Linked DNA regions of Homo sapiens: regions 2, 3, 4, 5 and 6 are each linked to region 1. The links are contacts of gene promoters, found by promoter capture Hi-C in blood cells and fetal thymus (Javierre and others, 2016). All regions are on one chromosome and are shown on one strand. The core of a region is centred on a gene start or on the middle of the fragment in contact, and the rest is flanking DNA. Distances in the headings are between cores, read along the strand shown. Region 1 holds the start of RPL37A (ribosomal protein L37a). Region 2 overlaps ARPC2 (actin related protein 2/3 complex subunit 2). Region 3 overlaps DIRC3 (disrupted in renal carcinoma 3). Region 4 overlaps DIRC3 (disrupted in renal carcinoma 3). Region 5 overlaps DIRC3 (disrupted in renal carcinoma 3). Region 6 overlaps DIRC3 (disrupted in renal carcinoma 3).

Region 1 (3,554 bases), core at 696-3,195:
TCAGGAACTATACCTGAAAATCACCATCCTGTATTGTAAGTATATAAATAATTCACTTTCCTATCAGAACCAAGAAAGCACTCTAGTTCCCATTTTCCATTCTGCCCTAATAAAAACCCCCACAAGGAATATATATATATTTCAACATTTTCCACTGCTTCGGTTTAAGTTTAAATTGACTGAAACTTTAAAATCCAATTCTTTAATTACACTAGCCATATATGTGCTTAGTGTATTGGACAACACAGGTCTAGATGCTAGTTTGTAGTATAGTGTTTGTAGTATCGCCCTGTCAGGTGATACTGAGTTGCAGATTCACAAACCTGCAGCAGTCTAATACTGTTCAGAAAGACGAAACTGTGGTGGTCCTGATGGCCTCAAGTTCCAAATACAGTTTTGAACTAACTGACCCCTTCACCTATTTTTATCAAAACTTGCAGTGCAAATCAACGTTCAGTAGATTCAGCCCCACTAATGGACCTGCACAGTATCATGACAATGTTCACAACAATGTGCCCAGTGACCATCAAATTCTAAAGTAGTCTGTGAATTAGATTTCCGACTTCTATTTTGGTAGTTTTGTGTTTACTCTTTCAATAACTGAAAATAAACCACCACGGAAGAATCCTGAAAATACAAAGGCATCCTTATTCTCTCAGTCCTGAGAAAGTGTTAAAACTAGCCCATCCAGCAGCAACCTGGAATTTGGGCCTATGTGGTCCACACACTTCCAAATACCACAAGGAACTAGACTCACTTGTACGTCCAGGCACCGCCAGCCACTGTCTTCATGCAGGAACCACAGTGCCAGATCCCCACAGCTCGTCTCTTCATCTTGGTCTATAAAAGAGAACCAATTTTCACTATGAACCAAGTAAGTATTTTCTCTTACAAGCATCCAGAAGTCTAAATTTGGATTCACCTTATTGTCAGGGATGTGAAAGCCTCCCTTTCTCCCTCAAAAACAAAACAGGGATTGCTGTAATGCAGTATTTTGCACATAAACGTTCAAACCTTTATCAAACAAAAATCCCTCGCAGAACAAGTAGAATGGTATTAGATGCACAGACATCTTGGGAGTTGGTGCAGAAACATCAGTAGACAAAACTGATGGAATCATTTCCCACAAAGCAGGTTTGGCTTAGGCTGGGGGCACTCTGTCAAATGATTATTTTACCCATTAACGTTTAAGCGGTTTTCTTTAAATGAAAAACGTCTCACAAAATCTGAAGTTACCATCAACACTTTTATCTTAAAACTCATAATCAACGGTATGAGTAATTCCAACTGCCCACCAGCACACGGCTTATAAAATACCTTGAAGTCAGGCCTCACTTGGGTAAGAAACCTGCCCTCCCTCTCCTCTCACCAGAGACTTTGCCTTACTTACTTTGCCACAGAAAGAGCAAGTGTACTTGGCGTGCTGGCTGATTTCAATTTTCTTCACCATTTTCCGGAGGGAGGCCCCATAGCGGGTCCCGTATTTACCGACGATCCCGACTTTCTTGGTACGTTTGGCCTGTTTAGAGTGAAGGGAGAAACCAGTGATAGACCTGGAACCCAGGCAGGCCCTGGAGCCTCCACACACCGTTCCTCCACCTCACTGACGTGTGACCGACATGTGAATTACATATGACCTAGTTTTCCCTAAATTCAACCCAACGAAACCAGTGCCCAGGGCTGGCCGCGCGCTCCGAAGGCCCGGCGTTAACCCGGCTGGAGCGCGCCAGGCCCAGCCAAGGCGCCCCCGCCCCTCCGCCTTGGGGAGCTTCCGACAATGGTGTCTCCTGCAAAGGCATGGAGACAGGAGAGAACACGGGGTAAGGCAGGAGAGGAGATGGGTGCGGGAGAAGAAAACAAGGACAGATGCAGGCAGATAGAGTTCTAGGCCGCACAGAGACCCACACTCACCATGTCGCCGCGACCTAGGTCCGAGCCCAGAAAGGAAGAGACGCGGTGCGCAGGCGCGGTATTAGGCGGACGAGCGGAAGTGGCTGGTAGAGGCCTAGCTAGGAACTGAGCTCTATGGTTTGGGCGTTTTCAGGCGGCCTCCTGAGAAATGTTTGCAATTGTAAGGCGTCTCTCTCATCCAGGTTTACCCAGATTCGCAAACTATGGCGACAAACAACCATAGCAGAAGCATGTCCGGATTATTTCACATATATCACAAAATCCTGCAAAGGTACGAGTTCCTCCATTCGATGCACAGCACTTGGCTTGGAGAAGTGCATAAATCTTACATTTGTGGGGCCGGGCGCGGTGGCTCACGCTTGTGATTCTAACACTTTGGGAGGCGGGGTGGGTCAGGAGTTCGAGACCAGCCTGGCCAGCAGGGTGAAACCCCGTCTCTATTCCAAATCTCATTTATTTCCCCCTCTGCATTATGCTCTCTAAAAGTGGCTGACTGTGCAGGATGCTAGCGACAGTGGTGACTAAAATCCAAGGTTCCATTCCCAGAACAAGTTGCAGGCCAGCTGCAAACGATCATATAGCCACATTAAGAAGTTAGACAGTTTCAAACTGGTCAGAGTTCTGAAGGAAAGGACGATGGTTCTGCTCGCGACTAATTCAGAAGAGCCTGGTGTTTCCTGAGGAAAGTCTGAGATTGGAAGGCTGGGGAAAAGTTAACAGTCACCTTGGAGTTTTGTGTTCCAGCTGCTGCATCTCAGTGCGGATGGCCTGCCTTCCACTTCATTTCAGAACTCACTTCCATGGCCCCACACTAGGCTGTTAAGACAGCTTCCTGGTCCAGGCCTGAACCCTTAAACTCCAACATCTTACCCTTTACCCACCGTCAATTCTCTGTCCCTCCAGGTCTCTCAAAGGGGTCAGCAGGGAAGAATTGGATTTCTGGTTGAGGCCGGGGGTGGGGAGGGTGTGTTCTGGAACTAGACACATGATCTTCTTTCTTCACGTAGAACACACACACTAGGAAGTTTGGTTGCCTTTTTTCAGGGGATGGCTAATCCAGAGAATAAGAAGCTCAGAAAACTACTGGAATAAGAGTGTAAGAGAGAATCCATGATTAGAGGGCCAAGAAAGACCATGGGAGCTGAAAGGCATTGTGTGGCCCTGATTCCAATCAGAAGTCCGGTAACAAGTAGCTTCCGTTCCCAAAGCTTAATATTAACTGTCTCAAATAATTTTGCACCTGTTCACTTTTCCTCACAATTGTATTAAAGTCAACTTGCATACCTGGGCTGAGGTGGGAAGATCATTTGAGCCTGGGAGGTTGAGGCTGCAGTAAGCTGTCATCACGCCACTGCAGTCCAGCCTGGACAACAGAGTGAGACTCTGTCTCAAAAAATATATATGAATCAAATCAAATCAAAGCAACTTGCAAACAGCTATGTACTTCATATGGTTACAATTGTTGGAGGGTAACACATGGTAGGCACTGAGTATTTTATGTGGATGTTCTCATTTAATTTTCCATTATCCTTTATGATAGGAATGATTATTATCTTCATTACTAAGAAAAAGAGAGGAAGTCTCATGTAATGATTAGGAACTTAGAGGCTCTGGATTCAGTATGGGTTCAAAACAGAACTCTG
Region 2 (3,554 bases), core at 448-2,947, 1.7 Mb before region 1:
AAGAATAGTCAGGACATCTGCTTTACAACTTTAGCTTTCTCATCACGCTCATGTTTTGGGACAAATACCCTTACACCTTTGCATTCTCCCCTATCATCAATAAAATGGGGGAATAAAAATGAACCTATTTACCTCATGGAACTACTACATATAACACAAGAACAGACCTGAAGTCCAAAGTAGGAAGCAAATGAAGACTATTGCCTTACCAGCTAGCTACCTGTAAACTCAATGATTCCACTTTGTTTTAGGGGCTAGCAAACAAGATGCGCATGTTTTCACATTTATTTTTGTCTAACTTGCTCAAGACCTCTTAATCAAGTACGTATCTTTCCACGATCTCTGCTCCATTACCTGCGAAAGAAACGAAGACTAAGTTGCTCTCCAGGGATGCTGGGAAATAATGGAATATATAACATGGTTTATGAGTGTTAAAAAGCTGATATAGAAGCCAGACAATACCTTTCAAAAAAACTGGCTTCTATGAAGCATGCTAGCCCTGCTGAAAAATCAACCTATACGAATCATACAAAGCTTCACCTTGCTTCTTCAAAGCCCTATATGTGACTTAGGAAAAGCGCACTGGGTATCTCTACGAATTGAAGTATCAAGTGGGTTTACGGAGAAGCAGAGAGTTCAGAATAGAAGGAAAAAACTAGATGAAAATTTAAATTGCTTCTGAGCCTTCATTTTGAAACTGTAGCCAGGAAACAAAGGCAACGAGTCCAATACCATTCCTCACCTCTAGAAAACAAGAGCAAAGAACAAAAATATGGAAATGTTAATCATGGACCAACTGAATGAAATATTAAGAGGATGACCAATGGGAGGAAGCATGGAAGCATACTTTCCTGGGGAAGGCTGACTGTGCTGAAGAGTCAGGGAGTTTATAAAAGCCCATTATTACATCACTTAGTAAGTTTTTTTTTAACCTTTAGGTTTTAATTCAGCCAAAGAAGGGCTGAGTTCCTCACTCTCCTACTTTGTCAAAAGACCTGAGAAAAACCAACTATAAATAAATAACCTTTGGGCTCCAAGTCATACACACTTTGAGTCTCTAATTTCAAATTTCTCTAGGCATAAAGTATCCTGAGCACAGATCCTTGTGGGAAAAGTTGCTACGATCGATCTTAAGTGGTCTGCTGTCTGACTTAGCAATATTTGTCAAATCACATTCATTAATATTTTAGTTTACTATTTATGGCTAGAAGAGAGAGAATGGCTGCTGAGGAGAGTATTAGGCCAAAGGAGACTTCATGGGAAGTCTTCTGGGAGTTAGAGGTCCGAGAACTCAGTGCCTTAACGATGAGTTTGCTGAGCGTGAAGTATACCATCACAAGATTGCTTCTCAATTCCAAGACCTGGCGTTTGTTATTTTACTTCTGTGGTTTAAAATTACAAAGGAGCGGGAGGAAGACTGGCCCAGGAAAAGTGTTCCACTAAATAGGCCCCCAGAATTAATAGTTACATTATTTACTGTTCTACCAGCTGCTAAAATTTCAGATGCTGGGGGTGAGAAAAAGCAAGTTATTTAGAATTCAGAATTTATTGGCTATGTGACCACAGGCAATGCTCCTCAAATGTCACCGGGCCTCAGGTTCCTCTTCTACAAAATGGGGACAAAACATCTACCTCCCAGGTTGGTGTGAAGACTGAGATGATATATGTCCAGCAGTACAGCAGTCTCCCCTTATCTGTGGGGGATATGTTCCAAGACACCCAGTGGATAAATAAAAGTGTGGATAGCACTGAACTGTAGCAAAGAAACACCAAGGTCACTTTTTTTACTTAAAGGAATCACTTCATGGGTTCTCTTTGGCATATCCAAATTGCCAGCATCATTACTCCTGTACTTTGGAGCCATTATTAAGTAAAATAAGGGTAACTTGAACACAAGCACTACAATGCTGTGACAGTCAATCTGATAACCTAGACAGCTATTAAGCGACTAACAGAGGGTAGCGTACACACTGTAGATATGCTAGACAAAAAGATGATTCATGTCCTGGGCGGGACAGCGCAAGATTTCATTATGCTACTCAGAATGGTGCACAATTTAAAATTAATGGATTGTTTATTTCTGGGATTTTCCATTTAATATTTTCAGACCATGGTTCACTGCTCACTGCAGGTAACTGAAACTGCAGAAAGCAAAACCACAGATAAGGGGGGACTACTGTACAGCAAAGTTTCTCAAACGGTGTCTTTTAAGTTATAGATATGCTGAGGTAATGATCCCCATATCCCTTAGGGCAGGCAGCAGGTGGCAGGATCTCTGAGAGGCTAGACCATTTACCCAAATGTGCCATACAAATACAATCATGTTCTGTGTGCCATACGATAAACAAGGTCAAGAATCACAGTGAAGGATGCCTGCACGGTGCTTACTTAATATGTAGTAGTTACTTATTCAATATCTACCCCCACCCCCAATCCTCAAGAGCCCTGGTTTTCTCAGTTGTAAATGAGATCCACTATCTGTCACAGAAATGAAATGAAACCATGTTAAGGCATATAGCACAGTGCCTAGCTCATAGAAGGTAATCAATAAATTAGTTCTTCTCCTAGGTGGAGTCAGAGATCGGACTCTGAAGCTGTGGTTGGGAGAGGTTTTAGGATTGCGGTAATTCCCTGAATCAGGAATTGGTTAGCAGTACAAGGAAAAACAGAACTCCTATAAGTGTCAGACTGCTGTAATGTCTGGAATCCTAGAACAAGCCGGCTGGGTAAGTCCTCAGAGTTACTGCCTGGACAACCCAAGACACTAAAACATAATCAATTCATTCAGACAGGTTTTAAGAGCTATTCTTAAAACCCTTTAGAAAAAATTTTCTTCTATCTTTTCTCTAAGGAAGCTTCTAGAATGTCAATAATCAATCCAGAAAGGGCTTCTGGCAACTGTATTATCTCATCTTCTTTTCTCATTAACAACTTTGGGGTTTTTACTCCTGAATGCACCCTAGGATCCAATTCCCCATTTTTTTCTTTTTTCTTGAGATGGGGTCTCGCTCTGTCACCCAGGCTGGAGTGCAGTGGTGCCACCTCTGCTCACTGCAACCTCCGCCTCCTGGGTTCAAGTGATTCTCCAGCCTCAGCTTCCTGAGTAGCTGGGATTACAGGTGTGCGCCACCACACCTGGCTAATTTTTGTATTTTTAGTAGACATATGTTTTGTCATGTTGGCCAGGCTGGTCTCAAACTCCTGACCTCAAGTGATCCGCCCTCCTTGGCCTCCCAAAGTGCTGGGATTACAGGCGTGAGCCAGGGTGCCTGGCCCCAATTCCCCATTTGGGCATTTATGTCTCTCTCCTACTTATCCCTTCTTATGTCCTGAATTAGAGGAATTACTGAATTCTGCTCACTATAAAGGTTTCTGAGCATTCTCCTTTAAATCTTCTATAAAGCTCCCATCATTCTTTTTGAGCAAAGCCTAAAAAAATAGATCATATTAGGTAAGAGGTGGTCCTATTCTCCACTAAGCCATATATCAAAATATGGAGAACAGAGACCTAAAAGCTGATTTACTCAATGTCACAAAAATGTCAGCTCCTAAAG
Region 3 (3,554 bases), core at 426-2,925, 1.3 Mb before region 1:
AGTGTATATTTTGATTCCATGTTTTCTCATAAGCTTTTTGGAGTCCCATTGTATTTATGGGGTACATGTGATATTTTGATACCTGCATACAGTGTGTAATGATTAAGTCGGGGTATTTAGGATATCCAACACCCCAAACATTTATTTCTTTTGTTGGGAACATTTCAAATCTTCTCTTCTAGCTGTTTTGAAATATGCAATAAATTATTATTAACTATAGTTAGCTGTCTGTGCCATCAAATTATAACCTATTTCTTCCATGTAATGATATGTTTGTACCCATTAAATAACATCTTTTCTTCTTCTACTCCCACCTTTCCCAGCCTCTGGTAACTATCATTCTACTTCCTACTTCCATGAGATCAATGTTTTAGCTTCCACATATCAGTAAGAACATGCAATATTTGTCTTTCTGTGTCTGGCTTTTTTCACTTAACATAATGACCTCCATTCTATCCACGTTGCTGAAAATGACACTATTTCATCATTTTTAATGACTGAATAGTATTCCATTGTGTATACAGACACCACATTTTCTTTATCTGTGCATCCTTTGAAGAATACTTAGGATGATTCCATATCTTGGCTCTTTGAATAGTGCTGCAATAAACATGGGGGTCCATGTATCCCTTTGATATACTGATTTCCTCTCTTTTGGTTAAATACCCAGTAGTGGGATTGCTGTTTTGTGTCACTGTTCTATTTTCAATTTTTTGAAAAACCTTCAAACTGTTTTCCATAATGGCTGTACTAATTTACATCCCCACCCACCAAAATGGATGAGTTCCATTTTCCCTGCATTCTTGCCAGCATTTGTTATTTCTTGTCTTTTTTGTAATAGCCATTCTAACTGGAGTGAGATGATACCTTATTGTGGTTTTGGTTTGCATTTTCCTAATGATAGTGGTGTTAGTTTAGTTCTTGATATGCACACATTCTACCAACGATGTCTATCTTAAGCTTACTAATGAGTAAGGAAGGACTAAAAGGAAAAAGAACAATGGATTTTCCTACTTCTCCCTTTCCTTCTATGCCATCATTTTTAGCCCAAATGGTTGGCTCACAAAGGAAAATAACATGAGTAAAAAAGAATATGATAGGATTCCTTGGTTGTTTGTGTCATTTGGAACACCATTTCCCTTTTTCTGAGTTCACAGCAGGTTCTGGTTCAAATAGAAAGCCTGGCCTACAAGGGCTATCAGTGCCCTGTTTGCCTAGTCATGGATGTTATACACTTACCTGCACTCCCTTTGATTCTCAAGTATTGTGCATCCACTGGATTATGTGCTCATGTGGCATTGCCAACAGCTCCATGTGCATAAAGCAGCAAGGATTAGCCAACAAGCTTATTTAGCATATCTGCTCACAAGCAGGCTCTATTGGTCCACTGGATTTCATTTAGACAACACAAGTTCAAAGGCAAAGTCATTAAGAATTTCACAACGTCGATAGCAGAACATTGAACTAGACATGGAGCCCTTTAAGTTCAGGGCCCTATGCAGCAGCACAGATCTCATGCCCACTAAGCTGATCTGGAGCTTCCTCATCCCAGGCGCATTATTCAGATGGAATTTTAACTTTCTATTTTAAAGTCTTGTTTGCTTGTGATTCTCTTTTCTATGATACATTTCTGTTCCTTAATGATCAGTTTTAGAGATTATCCAGCCATTTCCTGCTGTGACAGATGAGAATTAACTCACTTAAGCTCTTCCTTTCACCTACTGCTTTAGGAACTTTATATAAACATATTTTTATTTCTTGCACACAAATTATAAAAATATATCTTGAGTCCCCATTTTGTACATTTGAGGCTATTCAGGTTCATTTCCTTTACCTATTCTCTCCCTGTTCATATTCATGTTTTTTAATGTGTGCTTTTACTTAAACTGTATTCATTAGGCTATTAATAGGTGCTGAAACAAGTTTCAAACACAATAAAACTTTACTGATTGCTCACAAAACAGCACTGGCAAGCCATTCATTGATTTAGTCTGATGGAAGCTTTATGAATACAACCAAAAATCAATGCAGTTTCCATGGTAAGCATCTGCCTTTTGCCAAGCTGGAAAGGGCAAAGAGCATGGACCAGGGTACATGGGAGAGGTTTATGGACCAGGCCTGGAAGTGGCACTTGTCACTTCTCTCTCATTTCATTGGCTAGAACTGAGTTACATGGATACATTTTATTGCAAGGGAGTTTGGGAAATATAGTCCACTCAAGTGCCCAGGAAAAAGAGGAAAATAATTTTGGTTAAAAACTAGCAGTCTTTATCACTCTTATACTGTCAAATTAATAGCCTTTATATTCTCTTTGGTGATTTATTTATAGGTTGATTCTAAAAGCTGAAAATCAATATCCAGGTTCACATGAACAAAACTGCATGGTCCAGATTTTGGTACAGAGCAAAACCCACTCTAGCTAGTTTGAGAAGAAAGATGTTACGGTCCGAATGTGTCTTCCCAATATACCTAGGTTGCAATCTAATCCCCAGTGGGATGATACTAGGAGGAGAGGGCTTTGGGTGGTGTATTAGTCAGTTCTTGCACTGCTATAAAGAAATACCTGAAACTAGATAATTTATAATGAAAAGAGGCTTAATTGATTCAGTTCCACAGGCTGTACAGAAAGCATGGCTGGGGAGGCCTCAGGAAACTTACAAATGGTGGAAGGTGAAGGGGAGCAGGCATGTCTTATGTGGCTGGAGCAGGAGGAAGACAGCAAAGAGGGAGGTGCTACACACTTTTAAAAAAACAGATCTCATAAGAACTCACTCACTATCAAAGAGAATAGCAAGGGGGAAATCTGCCCCCATGATCCAATCAACTCCCACGAGGTTCCTCCTTCAACATTGGGGATTATAATTTGACATGAGATTTGGGTGGGAATACAACCCAAACCATATCAGGTGGTGACTAGGTCATGAGGGTAGAGCCCTCATTAATGGGTTTAGCACCCTTACAAAAAGAGGCCCCAGAGAGCTACCTTGCCCCTTTCACCATGTGAGGACACAGGAAGAAGGCACTGTCTGTGAACCAAGAAGTGGGCCCTCCCCATACACTGAATCTACTGGTGCCTTGATCTTGAACTTCCTAGCCTCCAGAGCTGTGAGAAATAAATTTCTGTTGTTATAAGCTACCCAGTCTATGGTATTTCATTATAGCACACCCAACTGACCAAGACAGAGGAATTTATTAAGTAGATTTCAACATTATCAGGAGGACTGAAAAAAGAGACTCTAGGTTGAGATTTTAGAAACCATTTCAGAAATAGTCCCTGTGACTCTTCCGCAGTCAGGGAGCTGCTATCTCAAAAATCACAATGCCAATCTGTGAATAGGGAGTTATTTTGACGAGGAAGTCATCATGGCTACTGTCTCTGGAATCATGCAGAGCTGCTCTGAAATGACCAGCAGGATGGGTGCTCCAATCCCTGCCTCAGCAGTCCTGAAGCTTGTGGCTAGATACTTGGACCTCTGTTAATGTTGCCACAGAAAAGCCAGCAATTCCACAGGATGCCAGCAGGAAACAGCACAAGCAGTAGAAACGTCACCTCC
Region 4 (3,554 bases), core at 566-3,065, 1.3 Mb before region 1:
GAGGCAGAAAAATGAGGGGATCAACAGCCCAGGCCTCAGGGGCACCCTTCTTGGCCCTTACAGGTAATTTAATTGCTGTGCCTCAGAGTCTCTTCTGTAAAATGGGAATGATAATAGTACCCTAAGTGATAGTATTATTATTAAATATTGGCTGAGTGTTCCCAGCTTTGTCATAATACAGCTCTGTGACCTTGGCCCCTCTCTCAGGACCTTTGTTTCCTCATCAATAACGGGGAATGAAGCACTCATTTTGCGTGGTTGTGATGAACAGGTAGGTTGTTTGTGAAATCACCTGGTGGTACCTAGTAGGTATTAAATACCCATTTCTTTCTTGGATAAGTATTGCTTCCCAGTCAACACTTATCTTCCCTGTTGCCCTGGCCTCAGCAAGGTGACAGTGATAAGTCAACTGATCCCTTTCAGCAGAGACCTCTTCAGGACATCTGCCTTAGATGAAGGAGAGTGTAGGTGTTCAGGAAGCTTGGGGGAGATTGATTTACTTCCTGGAGGGCTTTTTGTTAGTCCTGAAATGTCACTATGTGGTTTGCTGCTTCCTCTGCCTGCGGGTGATGGGGTAGGGGTAGAAGGTGGAGGGGGTGCAGGTGTCTTGTTGGGAGCCCCTGGAAGTCACCTCTTTAGAGGGGCCGTCTCTGAGATACGACGATTCATTTTCTGTTATCCTTATATTTTTGTCTCTACTGCCCCCAACTCCCCCCATGTAAACAGCCTGCTCCTTTGAGATCCCTGCTTTGGGAGACTTGCTGCTGCAGGCCAGGGAGTAGGAATTGCTTTCTTTTCTTTTTTCTTCCTTTCTGGGAGCCTGAGTTCTTTGAGATGTGAGTGCCTTTGAGGGAAGAGTCCCGGAGGCAGAGCACCCTTTTCCCTGTCAATGCCCAGGGTGGGCAGGACCTCAGAGTGGGCTGACAGTGTGATGTGTCTGTGACTAGCTTTCTCTGGCACTGTTTGGCACAGAAGCAGCAGAGCCCCTGGGCTCCTGGGTACTGTGTGGCCTTGCATCAGTTATCTCAGTGTAACCAGTGGGGACAAATGGCCAGTGACCACGCATGCACCCCTTCCAGTGATGCTGGTGAGAGAGAGGATGGGCGGGTTCCATTAATGACCAGGACAAAATTTGCTGTCTCAGGTGGGATGGGGGCTCAGAGATGGATTTAACTTGACTTAAATAATTTTTTTGAAAATTATATTTCTCATATACCTGAAATCGTGGAGTTTGATTTATAGTTGCTATTTCTGAATTTTCCTTAGCACCTGCACAGCGTCTTGTATGCAGCAAGCACTCACTAAGCCCTTCTCCTTACCCTGCCAGTCTACCTATTAGACTAGCCCTGGTGTTCAGGACTTAAAGTAATGGGCCAGCTAGGAGCCTCCAGGGCTGGGTCTCTAGACTGCAGGTGCCATGAGATGGGTACTCCCAACAGTCCAGCCTCAGACACATTGCTCTGCTTGACAAAGCTTTGCAATTCCCATGAGTGACAGCACCAAGAGCTACCATGTCTTGAGAGCTTCTGATCTGCTGGCATGGTGTGAAGCCCTTAGCATGGTATCTCATTAGTTTTCACAGCAGCTCTATAAAGTCCAGACTACATTGTCTCTATTTTGCAGATGAGAAAACTGAGGCTTGGAAAGATGGCAGAGCCAGAATACTATCCCAGGTGGTTGGACACCAGAGTCACTCATTTTAAGCACTTAGGACAAGTGACTGATGGACTGACTGAATAAAGAAGGACAGGAATAATAAAGTTGTCAAATTGGGGAATGGCAAGACAGGATGTATTTATTTCCTGCCTTTGGCACCTGTCTTCAGTGACCCTTTCCCTCCCTTTTCCCCTTAGGCCCCACCCAGAGAGGCTGATTTCCAGTCTGTGGGGTCCAAGGGGGATTGAGGGTCCCCTGTCTGTGCCTTCTGGACCCTCTGGGAGCTCTTGGCTCTTGACTCTGGGCTGGGAGGCTGGAGCCCTATTGCCTTTTCTATCAGGGATGGACAGAGACATTCTTTTTCATTTTCTTTCCCCAATGCCATTTTGTTAAATCAGAAATCCTTGAGGAGTGAAGTCACATTTTCCATGCCCCTGAAAGCTCTGGAGAGCTGATGAGTGTTATTGTAACCAGAGGAGACTGGGGACAAAGGAAGCTTATAATTTTGTAAACGAGGCTTGGGAGTGCCCTGCCTGCAATGGCTTTCCAGAGGGAGAGGCAGAATTCGGAAAAACCAGAGGCAAGAAGAATGGCAGGACTGGCCAGCCTTGAGCCTTGCACCCAGGCAGAGACCCTCCTGCCCCCTTCTCCAGTTACTGTTTCCCAGCCTTCCCTGGGGAAGGAAGTTGGCTTGCTGAAGCGGCAAGATCTCTATGCTTAGAATGAAGCACGTGGGGTCACAGTGCCGGCTCATTCACCTCAGTTTCCTCATCTGCAAAATGGGCTGGTGAAGGATCTGCCCCAAAGAGTCTGCACTCAGCCTGGCGATGGGGCTGTGTTTCATAGAGAAGGAAACTGAGGCATGTGTTTTTCAGATAGGAAGTGGCAGAACCGGGATTTAGATCCCGGCAGTCTTACTCCTGAGTGGGAACTCCCACCCCTTGCTCCACAGCGCTTAGGCTCACCAGAGGCCAAATCATGTGAATCAAATGTGACCCGCGTGCTGCCACCTGGGGTCAGCCCTCTTTGCCCCAGCCTGGAGGGACAGAGGCTTCCGCTGGAAGGTTAGGCTCTTAGGTCTCTTCAAACCTTAACATTCTCGGACCTTCTCCTAGTGGCCAGACTCTGTGACCTACTGCGTGGGAGGGAAGCCTGGGAACAGGTGGCCTATTTCAGCCCCTCTCAAATGAGTTCCAAGCAGGTGGCTGTTGCTTCCTCTTGCTGGCCATGGCTTCTCACTAGGCTTGCACAAAAATGGAGAGAAGACCAAATAAAGCTCCTTTGAGGACAAATGTCTTGGACAGGGCTGGGGGTGGGGATCCAAAGATGGACAGAGCCAACCCCCAACCCTTGCAGGGCTCCGAGCCTGCCTGCTTCCAGGCTGCAGGTCTTCTGTGCAGGCTGGGGTTGGGTGTTCAGGGCTGATGGGGGCAGGCATGTGAGTGATTTGGGGAAAAGGGCTGTGTGGAGGGGATTGGGTCGTTCACACTCAGCCTGGGTCTGTCACTGAGCATGCGCTCCCTTCTCCCTACAATCCTGGCCCTAGTTATCCTACTTCTTTAGCCCTGAAGCCCTAAAGCTGCCCCCTCCAGCAGGTGGCCGAGATTTCCCAGGTGGACTCGGGGGTCCTCCTCACTCAGGCCAAGCTGCCCATGAGGAGCTGCCCATGAGGAGCTGCCCATGAGGAGCTGCCCATGAGGAGCTGCCCATGAGGAGCTGCCCATGAGGAGCTGAAGGGTGATGAGGATCTGCCTGTTTCCTCCGTGAGAGTTCCTCTTTCACTGGCGCAGGCATTGCCCTCCTCAACTTGTGAATGGAAACCCATTCCAAGGGGGGTCTGGCTTTGCCCAGGTGGGTTTGAGATCCCCTAACCCAAGCCGCCTTCATCTCCCCTCCAA
Region 5 (3,554 bases), core at 674-3,173, 1.2 Mb before region 1:
TTTGACACATTAAAGATATTGCCCTACAGCCTTCCCTCACATACTGTTTTAAGATGAGACATCTGCTGTCTTTACTTTGGCTCTTTTGTTCATAATGTACCTTTCTTTTGCTGTTTTTTAGATTTTCTCTTAATCACTGGTTTTGAGCAATTTGATTATGAGGTGTGATATTCCTCATATTCTTTTGCTTGGCATTCATTGTGTTTTCCGGGTTTGTGGGTATATAGTTTTCATTAAACTTGGAAAAAAATTTAACCAGTATTTCTTCAAATAATTTTTCTGTTCTCCCTTGCATCTCAAATTTGATGACTGCAATTACACATATATTTGGTTGCTTGAAGTTGTCCCATAGCTCAGTGATACTCTGTTAGTTTTTCTATAATGTCTTTTTATCTTTATGTATCCTCATGGCTAGCTCATATTGCTGAGTCTTCAAGTTTCTTCTGTAATGTCTGATCTCCCATTTATTCTAGTCAGTGTATTTTTCATCTCAGACATTTTAGTTTTCATCTGTAGAAGTCTGACTTGGATCTTTTAAAATATCTTCTACTTAACTTTTTGAACATATACAGATATAATTATAATAACTGTTTCTATTTCCTTGTCTGATAATTCTAACATCCGTGTAGGTTTCAAGTTGGTTTTGGTTAATTGATTTGTCATGATACCATGGGTCATGTTTCTGCCCTTTTCAATACTTGGTAGTTTTTGATTGGGTGGTGTTGGAAGTCACCTCCAATCATTTCTTCACTAGAATCTGAACCACCAATGCAGAGATTGAAATCTAGTAGTCGGAATATGAATCCCATCTGTGGATGTGTTCTGCTCAGCTTGAACAGTGTGTTAAAAAAGATCTCAGATGTTTTTCACACTTAAAAATGGAGAGATATGTGAAACCATGGATTCTGTTAAACATTTTTAAAAAGTCAGGCTATCTTGCAGTATGGCTGCCATTCCCACTGGGAGCGGCTGCTGTCTTTGGATGCCACTGTGAGTTGAATGTGTTCCCCAAGGGTTCATGTGCTGGAAACCTAATCCCCAGTGCAGCAGTGTTGAGAGGTGGGACTTTTAAGAGATGATTAGAGGCAGGGCCCTCATCAATTGATTGTTACCTTGGGAATGGGTTTCTTAAAAAAGGATGAATTTAGCTTCCTTCTCTCTGTCTCTCACACACATGTCATGCCTTCCATCATGTTATCATGCAGCAAGAAGGCCCTCATCAGATGTGGCTCCTTGACCTTGGACTTAGCCACAAGCTAAATAAATTTCTGTTCATTATAAATTACCCAGTGTATGGTATTGCTATAGAAGCATGAAACAAACTAAGATGGGTAGAGTGTGAGGTTTCTATACCTCCTCACAACAGACTCTAGTAGGCATTTTAGTTTGAGCACTCTGTTATTTAAGATCAGTTTTCCAGAAGTAGACCTTGAGATGACTATTAGTGCACAAGTGATTTTTTAACAAAATGATCCTAGGAGAAACTTGAAAGAGAGTGGGGCATGCAGGAAAGAAAAGGGGAAGAAGTCAAGCAAGCATGAAATTTCTGTTATAAACTCATGGAGGATAAACTTTACCTTGATCCTGCAGAGGCATGATAGAATGCAAATTATGCTTCAGAGTTTGTCCCAACTAGATGCAAAGGAGCTGAACTTTCATATTTCCTCCCCAGTCAGAAAGTGCCCTTACACCTGGCAAGGTAGACAAAATAAGAAGGACAAAAGCATTAGGCATCTGCATTACTGTTCCATGTGGGGTCACCTGGGAGCCTCTCATGGTCCTGGCTGAGATGAAGGACAAGAGAAGATGTTGTGCTATTGGATGAAAACTGTGAAAGAGTTGGAAATGCCTTCATCCTCATAACGTCACAGCTTCCTCATCTCCAATGCTTTATTGGTGGGAAGGTCAATTGAGATCATTAGTGGAGACTAATACACAAAGGAATTGGGTGCCACCAGGGGAGGGGACCTACTGGAGGATTGCTACTTCCTCCTGTTGGAGAGCCCTGCTGATGTCACCTTATGCATTCCCTTACTTTAAGGAGAGATCATCCAGATTTAGTATGATTTTCATTCCTAGGAATCTCTAGGAAAGGGAACGTAATTGCCTTCTAGTCATTCATTTATTCACTTATTTGTTTACTCACTCATTTATTCACCCATAAACATTGAGCCAAGCAACATGTTCTGAAGAACTATTTGAATGAGGATATTTTAAGCCATTTATAAAGCAGTGTCTTACCACTGTTTCCTGGCCCACTTCTCCTCTCAAGAGGAAATCACACAGTCTTCTGTCATTGCTCCAAATTCCTTCAAGTGCCACCCACAACTGGAGGCTTCAAACCCATGTTCTTCCATTCTGGGCCTACGGAGGAGAAGTTTTGTGCCTTAAGCTATGGAGGAGTCCTGCATTTGGGCACCTTTCCTTTGATGTATTGATGTAGAGTACTCCCGCTATCTTTGGATCTTCAGTTTCCCTCATGTGAGCTGAAGCCAGCAACGCAGAAAACAAGAGGCTGAGCGCTGGTTATCATGGGCGTCTATGAGGGGGCAAACAGAGGGGAACAAAAGAAACAAAAAGCTCATTGCTAAACCCCTCCAGCCTCCTCAAAGCCTTAGAGTTACGTATACATAACAAATGTTCCTGTTGGGACCCAGAACTGTGAAGGAATGGGCTGGATGGAGACCAAAGGGAGAGACTGGGCTGGGGTTGGGCTGGAGAAGGAGAAAGGCTACTGCTGGTGGTTGGGCAGGTGAAGGTGATGCTGGTCATTGTCCAGCTTTAGGTCTGCTGCTGTGAGCTTATGAACTAGGAGAGTGGCAGAGAGAGGAGAAGAAGGGAGGAAGAAAGAAGGGAGGAAGCAAGAAACGGATAGAGGGGAAGAGTGAAAGAGAGAGAAAAACCATAGAGTGAGGAGAAAGAGACAGAAAGAAAAATAAATCAGAGACAGACAGAATAGAGAAAGAAGAAGCATGACTCTGTGTGTGTGTGTGTGTGTGTGTGTGTGTGTGTGTGTTTGTGTGTGTGCATGTGTGTGTGTGTGTGGTGGGGGGATTGCTGCCCAGGGTCCCTGGTTTGGAAATTCAAGGGGGTTGCAATTCTGGAGTGTGGTGAAATGGCCTCAGGGTCTCAAGAAGCTAACGGCAGGCTCATGCCAGGCCATAATAACAGCCTCTCGGTGGCTCCAACCCACTCTGGCCTCTCAACTCCCAGGAACACTAAATTCACACAGGCGCAAAATGTAACCCTGCTTCAGGCCTCGCAGCCTAATAGCTACCGTTGTGTTTGCACTGCACCCGCAAGCATCACGGGCAATTAAGAAAGTCGTCCATTGCCATCGTGGGCTGCCATTTACGGGTTGGAGCCTGGAGCCCCTCCAGGCCAGTTAGCCCTCTGATGAGACACAAATGAGCAGGGAGGAGTGTTGTTTCCCTGGGAGAAGAACTCCTGCCATTAGCTGGCAGATCCCAAAGGGAGGCAAACAGAGGCTGCTGTGGGCTGATGGAGGGGGAGGTGGAGATGGAGATGGGGAGAGACCAGGAGCCCTGCTTGCA
Region 6 (3,554 bases), core at 700-3,199, 1.0 Mb before region 1:
ACTGGCATCCAGAGAAGTTAAACGACTTGTCCAAGAGCGTATGGGGTGTTAGTAGGAAAACTGGCCTGGAAGCTGGGAGACCTGAGTCTAGTGAAGCTTTATTGGTAATCCTAAACTGTAGTTTATCTTATATTCAAAACAGCTTTAAGAATTTCCTGAGTCTATAACTTAACTTCCAGATTCCAGATTCTCCCTCTCTCTGTCTATATATACATATATGCACACACACAAATACATATACACACATACAATAAAACATACAATATACACACACAATATAACTGAGATAGAATACTCCAAACTTCAAATTACCTACAGATAAGGGAGTAAACTCCCAGGCTCAAGGTGGTCTCCAGAGCAAGTGCTGGAGCAAAGACTCAGCCTGAAGATTGTTTGGAAAAGGAGAACGGTGCCTGGGGGCATTAGTGTCCAAAACCACAGACAAAATAACCTCCAGAAAGAGAACTTCGCACCTGACTGAGAAATAGCTTGAACAACTCACAGGCCAGGTAGCCTGAGGGCGCTGCTTCAGGATGCGAATGAAAGGGAGGGTTTGACTGCCCATGGGGCTGGGCTGGCCTGTGGAAAGGGCACTATTTCTGGAGGAGAGGGGGCCGCTTGGCAGCAGGGCTTCAGAGGCGTCTGAGTGGAGGGGAAGAACGAAGAAAGAGTGTCCTACCAAGCAAAAGTGGATCTCAAAGCTCAGAAGGCACACCAACCCCTCCCCCACAAAAGCTGCTGTCAGTGAAGAAACTACACTTTCCCATGCCAACAGAAGAGGGTGCTCTTGAACTAAGAAACATGGTCAGTCATCAAACGCCATGACTGCGCCTATCTACAACTGTATATTTAAACATCTAAAAATGAATAGAAAATGGCAGACGACACTCATACAAGGCCAATAACTTAAAAAAAAAAAACAGGAATTAAAACATTCCAGCAGATGAAAATGCTTCTACCGAAATCAAATATGAGGTGGAAGAAAACTGTAACAGAACACCCACACTGAATTGAATATCCTAAAACAAGCATGTGAAGATAGAAAACAAAAACCTTAAATCAGAAGTTTTAAGCTTTATAAAAGAAATACGACCAAAAAACCCTATTATTTTGTGAAAAACCCTATTTTTCAGGAAAATGCGAAATAAGAATTGAGTGAACTCAGGAAAGATATGGAAGGAAAAGACAAAATCATCTTAAAAATAAAGGCCAAGTTATAAAGTACCCATGGAAAAAGAGATTTGACTGAAAATATGAAACAGTGAGGAAAGCCATGAAAAAAGGGAATAAAAATAAAATAAGGAACAAAGCAAAAGAGATCAGAGAGAAAATAATTGATAGAAGAAGGCCATTACAATAGAAAACCACTAGTATTTAAAACCACAGACTAAGAGAAATGTCTGAAATTAAAAGAAAACTTGAATCTGCATCTTTAAAGGCTCCTCAGTATCCCTGGGAAAATAAACCTGGAATGGTGAAGTCCAAGACATATACTAGGAAAATATTGTAATTTAAAGATAAAGAAAAAATTTTTCTAGATCTCCAGGCAAAAGTATCAAATCACTTACATAGGAAAGAAAATCGGACTTCTCATCTAAAGTAAAAGAATAACACAGTCACATCTTCAGGAAACTAAAGGAACTGTGGAATAGCTTTTATGTAGATGAGCTAAGCTTCAAGTATCAAGCGATTTTCTATGTGCAGAACCCCAGAGAACACTGCAATCACTATCCAACTTTAATGGTCCTACTATAGAAAAAACATCATTTAACCAAGATAGGACCTGGACCTGAAGAACTCTGGAAAATGGACTGTGTGAGCATTGAATATATTTCAATGTAAATCTGTAACTTAAACAAGGACAGAGTCATGGGGGGAAGAACAGTTCAACTGTTATATGTGGTGACAAAACTGAAGTGACCTATTGTTGCATAGACAATAGGTGGGAATGAAGAATATAATTTGAAGCAAATAAAACACTAAGTAGCAGAGTAAATGTGAGAAAAGAGACTAAGGGCATTATAATAGGTAGTGGCAAAAAGGTAAGCACTGCAACAAAGATATTAATCTTCCTAGATATCAAAAAATAAATATCACATGAAATAAACCACACTGAGAAAGAAAAATTATATACATAATTTTACACAGAATACAAGTTGAGACCATGTACATCAGTCATATTACTAAATTATATTTATTATATTATAATTTATTGATAAGCTTATTAATAAATTACATAAATCCCCAATTAAAAATATTTTCAAATTGACTCATACAGCAAAACTCAATTCTGTGAGATACATTTGAGACACACCTACAATAAAGTGATTCAGAAAGACTAAGAATAAAGAGGTATTCCAGACAAATGGAAACCGTAAAATAAAGACACTCAAATCTAATCAACATAATTCATAAGGTAGACATTATAGATATATATGAAACCTCCACTCTTGCTAATATTGGGAATATACTCTCTTCTTAAGCACAAATAGAATGTTCACAGAAATTGACCTCATGTTGAGTAACTGTCTTCCTCTAGGCTGCTATAGCAGAATATCAGAGACTGGGTGGCTTAGAAACAACAAAAGTTTACTTCTCACAGTTTTAGAGACTAAGAAGTCTAAGATCAAGGTGCCAGCAGATTTGGTGTCTGTTGAAGACCTACCTCCTCATTCATAGACAACACCTTCTTGCTGTGTCCTCACATAGTGACAGGGACTAGCTAGCTCTCTGGGGTCTCTTTTATAAGGGCACTAATCCCACTTATAAGGGTAGATATCTGATGGCCTGATCACCTCCCAAAGGCCCCACCTCCTAATGCCACCACCTTGGGAATTAGGATTTCAATTCAATGTGAATTTTAGGGGGACATAAGCATTCAGCCCATTGTAGTCACAAAGAAAGTTTTTGAGTGAGTTCCATGAAGTAGAAATTAATGAGAAAATTTAAAAACGTTCTTCTACTTGGAAATTAACATCTGTTAGATGACTATTGGGTGAAAAAGGATATACAAACTAAAATTGCAGAATTTCAAAAAACAATAATAGAATAAAAATATGCACATCTGATTTAATGAGAAATAAAGCAGTGATCTGAGGATAATCTGTGGGATTAAATATTTGAATCAATAAAAAATAATTACAATAAATAAATTTTATTCCCAACTTAAAAACCGAGAAAAATTACAAAGTAAATAAAAAGAAAGTATAAAGCAGGAAATAATAAGGATAAAAGAGGAAATTAATGTAATACAAAAGAGTAAAAAAAGAACTAATTAATGATTCGAAATGCTGGTTGATATGGTTTGGCTGTGTCCCCACCCAAATCTCATCTTGAATTGTAGTTCCCATAATCCCCTTGTGTTGTGGGAGGGACCTGGTGGAAGGTAATTGAATCATGGGGGCAGTTACCTCTATGCTGTTCTCATAGTAGTGAGTGAGTTCTCACGAGATCTGATGGTTGTATAAGTGGCTATTTTCTCCCTCTTCGTTCTGTACTTCTCCTTGCTGCCATCATGTGAAGAAGGATGTGTTTGCTTCCCCTTCCATCATGAT

What was found. Contacts are between HindIII fragments. The CHiCAGO score rates a contact against its expected background, and 5 or more counts as called.
Region 2: a contact is called between a fragment that was not itself captured here and the fragment with the promoter of RPL37A in region 1, in 1 of 17 cell types (activated CD4 T cells). The highest score is 5.4, in activated CD4 T cells.
Region 3: a fragment that was not itself captured here is called in contact with the fragment with the promoter of RPL37A in region 1 in 1 of 17 cell types (total CD4 T cells); the score reaches 5.3 in total CD4 T cells.
Region 4: a contact is called between a fragment that was not itself captured here and the fragment with the promoter of RPL37A in region 1, in 3 of 17 cell types (fetal thymus, naive CD4 T cells and M1 macrophages). The highest score is 8.7, in fetal thymus.
Region 5: a fragment that was not itself captured here is called in contact with the fragment with the promoter of RPL37A in region 1 in 1 of 17 cell types (total CD4 T cells); the score reaches 5.8 in total CD4 T cells.
Region 6: a fragment that was not itself captured here is called in contact with the fragment with the promoter of RPL37A in region 1 in 1 of 17 cell types (fetal thymus); the score reaches 5.8 in fetal thymus.

What each region holds. Positions count from the first base shown.
Region 1 is chr2:216,497,235-216,500,788 of GRCh38, reverse strand. RPL37A (ribosomal protein L37a) reads right to left here and starts at 1,945. Exons shown (of 4, transcript NM_000998.5): 1 at 1,912-1,945; 2 at 1,391-1,519; 3 at 758-840. The coding sequence starts at 1,914. RPL37A-DT (RPL37A divergent transcript) reads left to right here and starts at 2,037. Exons shown (of 4, transcript NR_183317.1): 1 at 2,037-2,182. RefSeq lists enhancers at 1,869-2,258, 2,439-2,528. The HindIII fragment of the contact is 3,327 bases long and covers 1-3,121 here.
Region 2 is chr2:218,221,707-218,225,260 of GRCh38, reverse strand. The region is part of intron 2 of ARPC2 (actin related protein 2/3 complex subunit 2); the gene reads right to left. Among named protein-coding and RNA genes, the nearest start is that of ARPC2, 6.3 kb to the right of the region's middle. RefSeq lists a silencer at 2,392-2,441. The HindIII fragment of the contact is 2,321 bases long and covers 537-2,857 here.
Region 3 is chr2:217,772,265-217,775,818 of GRCh38, reverse strand. The region is part of intron 2 of DIRC3 (disrupted in renal carcinoma 3); the gene reads left to right. Among named protein-coding and RNA genes, the nearest start is that of DIRC3, 16 kb to the left of the region's middle. The HindIII fragment of the contact is 656 bases long and covers 1,348-2,003 here.
Region 4 is chr2:217,752,530-217,756,083 of GRCh38, reverse strand. All of the region lies in intron 2 of DIRC3 (disrupted in renal carcinoma 3), which reads left to right. Among named protein-coding and RNA genes, the nearest start is that of DIRC3, 36 kb to the left of the region's middle. The HindIII fragment of the contact is 679 bases long and covers 1,476-2,154 here.
Region 5 is chr2:217,717,628-217,721,181 of GRCh38, reverse strand. All of the region lies in intron 2 of DIRC3 (disrupted in renal carcinoma 3), which reads left to right. Among named protein-coding and RNA genes, the nearest start is that of DIRC3, 71 kb to the left of the region's middle. The HindIII fragment of the contact is 7,326 bases long and covers 1-3,554 here.
Region 6 is chr2:217,508,164-217,511,717 of GRCh38, reverse strand. All of the region lies in intron 2 of DIRC3 (disrupted in renal carcinoma 3), which reads left to right. Among named protein-coding and RNA genes, the nearest start is that of DIRC3-AS1, 230 kb to the right of the region's middle. RefSeq lists a silencer at 763-852. The HindIII fragment of the contact is 547 bases long and covers 1,676-2,222 here.